2 separate regions of the Homo sapiens genome follow, and region 2 is linked to region 1. Evidence: promoter capture Hi-C in human tissues and cell types (Jung and others, 2019). All regions are on one chromosome and are shown on one strand. The core of a region is centred on a gene start or on the middle of the fragment in contact, and the rest is flanking DNA. Distances in the headings are between cores, read along the strand shown.

Region 1 (3,236 bases), core at 535-3,034:
GCACCACCACGCCCAGCTAATTTTGTATTTTTAGTAGTACAGACAGGGTTTCTCCATGCTGGTCAGGCTGGTCTCAAACTCCTGATGTCAGGTGATCCGCCCGCCTCGGCCTCCCAAAATGCTGGGATTACATGCGTGAACCACCATGCCCACCCTGCTCAGCTAATTTAAAAATTTTTTTGTAGAGATGAGGTCTCACTATATTGCCTAGGCTGGCCTCAAACTCCCGGCCTCAAGTGATTCACCCGCCTCGGTCTCCCAAAGTGCTGGGTTATAGGCATGAGCCACGGCGTTCAGCTTACTTTATTTTCTTGTCATAGTGCCTACTACTGCTTGACTTTCAGGAAGTCCTCTCCACACCCCATGCCATGAGGAATGAAAGCCGTATCTGTGCTGAGGGCAGTGGCTCTATGGGGCCATTTACGTCCTGATCTTTCTGAGCAAGACACAGTTAGTTTAGTCTGCAGTAAGAAGGATTTAGGCTAGACAGTGTCTCTGCTCTCCCAGTTATTACAACAATGAACACACTGTTATCATTGTCTATCCCACCCCCATCAAACTAAGTTAATCAATAATGTCTGATTCAACTGACTTCCTAGGGTAGGGCATTGGGTCTGGGCATAGGAAATGATGAATGAATGACTGCTGAGAATGAATGGATGAATGTAATCCATCCATTCACTCAACAAATATTTATTAACTACGATGTACCAGGGACTTTTAGAGTGCTGGACATACAAAGTGACAAAGTCTCTAACCTCTTGTTTCTTACATTTTAGATGTAGAGACAGTGAACAAGTTATTATATAACTGTTGGCAGAACCAGTTTGCTATGGGCCCTGAGCGTCCCTGCATGTTCTTGCTGGGTATGTCAAGAAAGCAAGACCCTGACAGCTCTGTACTCAGGCTGTGTTTGCAGCAAGGAACCTTGAAAGATGAGGTAAAGTCTCCCATTGGACAAAGAACAGCATGCTTACCACTCACTGTAAAAGCAGTCAATTGGCAGGGCCTGCTGGTGTGCAGCGGTAGTCCCAGCTACTCAGGAGGCTGAAGCAGGAGGGCTGCTTGAGGCCAGGAGTTTACGACCCACCTGGGCAACATGGCCAGATCCCCATGGTGGCACTTGCCTGTAGTTCCAGCTACTCAGGAGGCTAAGCCAGGAAGATGACTTGAGCCCAGGAGTTTGAAGCTGTAGTGAGCTATGATCGTGTCACTATAGTCCAGCCTGGGCAACAAAGTGACGCTCCAAAAAAAAAAAAAAAAAAAGGGCCAGGCACGGTGGCTCACGTCTGTAATCTCAGCACTCACTTTGGGAGGCCGAGGCGGGATCACTTGAGGCCAGGAGTTTGAGACCGGCCTGGGCAACTTGGAGAAACCCCGTCTCTACTAAAAATAAAAAAATAAGTCGGGCGTGGTGACGCGCGCCCGTAGTCCCAGCTCCTTGGGAGGCTGAGGCAGGAGAATCGCTTAAACTCGGGAGGCAGAAGTTGCAGTGAGCCGAGATTGCGCGCATTGCACTCCAGCCTGGGCCACAAAGCGAGACTCTGTCTCAAAAAAAAAAAAAAAAAGTACTGTGTATGAGCATGAATGAATGAAAGTGAACAAAGGAATCACTAAAAACCTGCTTACTGTGGAGCGTGGAACCAAAGGCCTGTCCACCACGTGTTCCACGGGTAGCGCTGGAACGCCCCTCAGAAAAGGAGATAAAGGTTCGGTTCCTTTAAGAGGCCCCGTCCCGTCCCGCGAAGCCCCGCCTATAAGGAGGCACGTGCCCCCAGGCCGCGCTCTAGGGGCTGGACTCAGGGCGGTTTGAAAGATCGGCGCGCACCGCAGGAGCAACGGTTGGTCCTGCGGCTGTGATGTCGGTGTTGAGGCCCCTGGACAAGCTGCCCGGCCTGAACACGGCCACCATCTTGGTAGGTGCAGGCGGCCCTGCTTCCCCCGCCGGTTTTTCCTCCTGGGCGGTGCTTCAGCCACTAGGTCAACTGAGCTCTCTGAGGCGCCAAGCCAGCGCGCGCTACCGTGGCGGGGGCGGGGAATAGGCGGAGAGCCATGCTCTGAACCAATTGGAGTAGCCGCTCTCTGAGGTTGAGGGACGCACCCACCAATAGGTGCTCGGCGGACCCTTTCCCAGCTTCTGATTGGCGAGTTCCCGCGCCTGGAATTGGTTTTCCCGCGTCTGGGGGTCTGGCCTCCTGGAGAGGCCGGCGGTGGGAGCGAGGGTCGGGTAGTAGAGAGTGCGGTGCCCACAGGCCTGCAGCGGGTCCAAACCTCAGGCCCCCAGCCCGTGCCGCTTCGCGGGGTCCACTTCTCGGGAAATGTCCTCCGAGCCGCCTGCTGGCGGTGTCCCGATCCCCCCGGGAGTGGGTCGAAGGGCCAGGCCCTCCCCAGGGGGTGCTGTGCCTAGGGCTCGACTGTCCGCTCTCTCTCCCTGCGCAGCTGGTGGGCACGGAGGATGCTCTTCTGCAGCAGCTGGCGGACTCGATGCTCAAAGAGGACTGCGCCTCCGAGCTGAAGGTGTAAGTAGCCGCGGCTGTGGCCTGGGCCCACGTGTCTCTCACTCCAGAGGGATTCGGTCCTAGCTGCTAAACTCCGAAGCCCAGCGCCCCCTCCTCTGAGGCTGGTCCTTCTCCCAGCATGCAGCGTAGCTGGCTAGTCCCATGCCGTCTTATATCCCAACCTCCCCTTGCCGAGGTGGTGACTAAACAGAGCCCGTTTCTGGCAGAGGGAATCAGACAGGAGTAATCTGAATAGGACCGGACCTGTCCTGCCTCTGTGCTGGCCCAAGGAGTCGTGGCCACAAGAGCCTCGGGTGGCTAGGATGAGGTGGGGAGCCCTTGACGGCCTCTTTCCACATGAAGGGCAGCATTTAAACGGTCGCTATGAGGGGGGTACGGATATCTTGAGTCCTGCAATTTCCTGTTTTTCAGCCACTTGGCAAAGTCCCTCCCTTTGCCCTCCAGTGTGAATCGGCCCCGAATTGACCTGATCGTGTTTGTGGTTAATCTTCACAGCAAATACAGGTGAGAGCCAGAGGAAGGGGCAGTCAGGGCTCAGGCAGGCCTGGCTCAGGACTGTGCTGAGACGGTGACCTAACTTGTGATGGGAAGTGGTGAGGATGGGAGAGGCTGGCTGAGGTCAATCTGTAAGGTGAGGAGAGAGGAGCCAGTGGTCAGTGCACAATGTTTAAAATACACAACGGCCGGGCACAATGGCTCACACCTGTAATCCCAGCA
Region 2 (3,544 bases), core at 311-2,810, 1.0 Mb before region 1:
TCTAAATCAAATAATAATTTGAATACAGTAGTGTATTAAAAGATTAATTTTTCATGACCAAACAAGGTTTACTCTAGCAATGCAAGGATAGCATAACATGAGGTATTGTGTCGGCTGGAGAAACTTCTAGCTCAGGGATTAGAGCATGGTTTGCCCCAGTCCTGCCATTTACTAATTCTCTGACGTTAGCCAAATTAGTTAATCTCCCTGAGCTTCAGTCTCCTCATCTATAAAATTGGCAGGACAATTACAATACTGCTGTATAGGGTTGATGGAAGGACGAAATGGGGTATCTGTGAAATGATTAGACCTGGGTTTGGTGCATAATAAGTGCTCAGTTAATGTTATACATCACAATTCACTGTATCACATTAAAAAGAAAACCCATGTGGTTATGTTAGCATATTTAAAAGGCATGTAATACAATTCTGCCGCTAATCTTAATGAAAATCTAAAACAGTCATAGAATCTACATAAATACAGAAATAGGTGCCAACACCCAGCAGCAAGCCTGTTAAGTGGCCATTCTGTGACACTCCAGGCATGACAGGGAGGCCTGCATTTAGCACTGTTGCCTCAAATCGATGATCCTGTGGACTTGTCAGGCTTTTGGGGAGAGGAGCCAGTCTGTCGCCTGGGCTGGCCAGTGTTGCCTCTGCTCTGTCTGGAGCAAGTGTGCATTAAGGCCTGCGCTTGCCAGTGGCCTTTCACCAGGGTGTAGCTTCTGGCCTTGCTCTATAGGAACCAGGAATTCCTGGGGTTGGGCTGGGAAGAGGATCGTTAAAGTGATAAGCCTGGAGGCATTTTGAGAACTACCTGTGACATTTAGAGTGAGGAGGGTCAGCAGTGGGTGGGTTAGCCTGGCAGGTGCCAAGGTTCTGTACTCCCTCTAGGTGAAGAATTAGCACAGGCATAGTTTCTAGCCCCCTTTTCCTCTCCTACATGCAAAATAAGATGATGAATGTTCTCCAAATGACAGAGGAGGGGAAGGCCTCAATGCTGTGAACTCTGTAGGGTTTCAGCTCAGATTGGACCTTCCAGACTGGCCTGGAAAGCCATGGGGGCCAGGGTGTCTCAGCATTGGCCCGCTTTTGGCCTGGTATTTGTTGAACATCTATCAGTGGGTCTTTTTCTTGTGTCTGTCTTACAGCATTTCTCTCATCTACCCCTAGTTTAGAAATGTTTTCTTAGATAACTTAAAATTCATGTAAAATAAGAGGTGATGGATATATAAGTTTTGGAACATACTAATAAATGCCTGGGAGCCAACCTCCTAGCTGGAGAACTAAACCACTGTGCACCACAGGGAAACTCCTAGTGGGTGCTCCCTGCCAGGGGGTAAAGGCATTCTAGAATAGTTCATCATTCCTGCACCTTTTTTTTTTTTTTAAAGAATATTGACAAGGCTCTGGTTAGAAAAAGGGAAAAAAAAAAGAATACTTATACACATGTATCTGTAAATAATATATTCTATTTTTGTTTATGAATTTTATAAAAAGAGACTCATAAGTAATCTGCAAATTTCATTTTTCATTCATTTTTACAGCTGGATAATTTTTCATTGTGTGCATGCTATATATATATATATTTGTATATATTTTTTATTTTTGTAGAGACAGGGTCTTGCCCGAACTCCTGAGCTCGAGCAATTCTCCTGCCTCAGCCTCCCAAAGTGCTGGGATTATAGGCATGAGCCACCATGCCCAGCCCCCTTTCTACCTTTTAATAGATATATTTTAGTTTTATTTGTCTTATGAGTAAACCACAAGAATGGGGACTTTCTCTAATGGATTTCTGTATCCTGTGAAAGTACTAAAACTTGTGGTGAATATGGTGGGAGCGTCCTCCATGCTAATAACTGAGTATTGGCATTGGATTTAAGGGAGTCAGTAGGTTAAACTGATACAGATTGGACCTTAGAGAGGGTGATGTGAGTGTCAGAACAAGACCAAAATGCCACCCTTGTTACAATGTAGTAGAAGTGGTGGACTAGAGCTCATCTGCAGTGCAGGCAGGTGGGCTTGCTGACTCTCCCTGACCCACATTCTAGGCCCTGGCACAGTCTACTCAAAGGTCAGCTGGGTCTGCAGAGGAGATATCCTTGCTCCAGCTGGCTGCCTTGCATCAATCTGGGGTGGAGAGGAAAGGAAAAGAGGACTAATTCCCAAAGCTTATGTTGTTGTTGTTGTTCCTTCTCCTCGTCCTCCTCCTCCTCTTCTTCTTCTTCTTTCTCTTTTCTTCCTCTCCTCCTCCTCCTCCTCCTTCTTCTCTTTTCTTTTCTTTTTTTTTTTTTTTTTGAGACAAGATCTCACTGTGTTGCCCAGGCTGGAGTGCAGTGGCACAATCTCAACTCACTGCAACCTCCACCTCCCAGGTTTAAGCAGTTACGGTGCCTCAGCCACCCGAGTAGCTGGGATTACAGGCACACACCACCATGCCCAGCTAATTTTTGTATTTTTAATAGAGGCAGGGTTTCACCATGTTGGCCATGGCTGGTGCTTATGATCTTTTAATGGATGGCCTCTACCCAGACAAGAAGCCTGTATGTGGTACTTCTGCCCCTACTCACCAGGAAGAGCACTCTCCTCTACTGTTCTCCAGTGGGGAGGAGTTAGGCGTGGCTTAGACCAGGAGCATTGAGGGAATGGAAATCATTGGCAAAGGGGAGCTGGCATCCTTCCCTACTGTTTAGAAGTAGATCATATCTAATTAACAGGTGAATGCTCTGGGTATGGCACCTGCTATTTGGTGCTCATGGGAAAGGGCCTTGGGTAGACGGTTCAGGCGCCAGGCCCTTGGTGGAACTGGCTTTTGTTTTTCATTGTACCTAGTCATGGTACACTGGATGGCGGATAACCGGAAGCAGAGTCGACATAGGGATACGGAGGGAAGGAGACTTACATAGATTTCAGGACAACAGTGAGCTGCCAGGCACCAGGCCAGGTGCTTTATCTCATGTAATCCACTTGGTAACATGTGAGGTGGGAGATGCTGGTCCTTTTTATACAGGTGAGGAAACAGAGGCTCTGAGGTAAATTGAATTGCGATTCCACAGCTCGTGGGCTGTGAGCTGGCATTTGTATCAGGCTACAAGTTAAGGCTACGCTTCTGTTCTTGGTACTTGGCATCCACACCTGAGCTATGTGTCCCCAAGGATGAGGCTGCCATTTCTCTCGTGGGCTTTTCTCTTTTCCTCTTTTAGCATATGCTGTGCCCCTAGACCCTAAGCCCTGTGCTAGGTGCCAAGGAAACAAGGGCAATGAGGGATGATGGAGACGGGAGTGGAGGATGGGCCCAGGCCTAAGACTGGAGTGTAGCAGGCCTGTTTCTGTGTCAGTTACAGGGGAGAGCAGCCAACCCAGTCTGGGTTTATGGGGCAGGGGGCCATGCGTGGCACAAGTGTGGGGCTTGCCACACCTGGGCGGAGACAGGCAGGCATGTTGGCTGGAGAGCTTGCTTGCGAGCTTTGCAGCTATCAAATGTGTAAATTCCAAAGTGTATATGTAGAGTTTCTGATTGAATGAAACATTTGAAAAATGAATGG

The links. The method cuts DNA at HindIII sites, captures the fragments that hold promoters and counts their contacts. A contact is called where the count stands out against the background at its distance.
Region 2: a contact is called between a fragment that was not itself captured here and the fragment with the promoter of CENPM in region 1, in 1 of the 25 tissues and cell types used here (lymphoblastoid cells).

The regions. Positions count from the first base shown.
Region 1 is chr22:41,945,700-41,948,935 of GRCh38, reverse strand. It overlaps CENPM (centromere protein M), which reads left to right and starts at 1,784. Exons shown (of 6, transcript NM_024053.5): 1 at 1,784-1,916; 2 at 2,440-2,519; 3 at 2,931-3,023. The coding sequence starts at 1,860. It also overlaps a transcript of SMIM45 not described here. RefSeq lists an enhancer at 1,771-1,980. The HindIII fragment of the contact is 14,723 bases long and covers 1-3,236 here.
Region 2 is chr22:42,973,502-42,977,045 of GRCh38, reverse strand. The region is part of intron 1 of PACSIN2 (protein kinase C and casein kinase substrate in neurons 2); the gene reads left to right. Among named protein-coding and RNA genes, the nearest start is that of PACSIN2, 40 kb to the left of the region's middle. The HindIII fragment of the contact is 8,338 bases long and covers 1-3,544 here.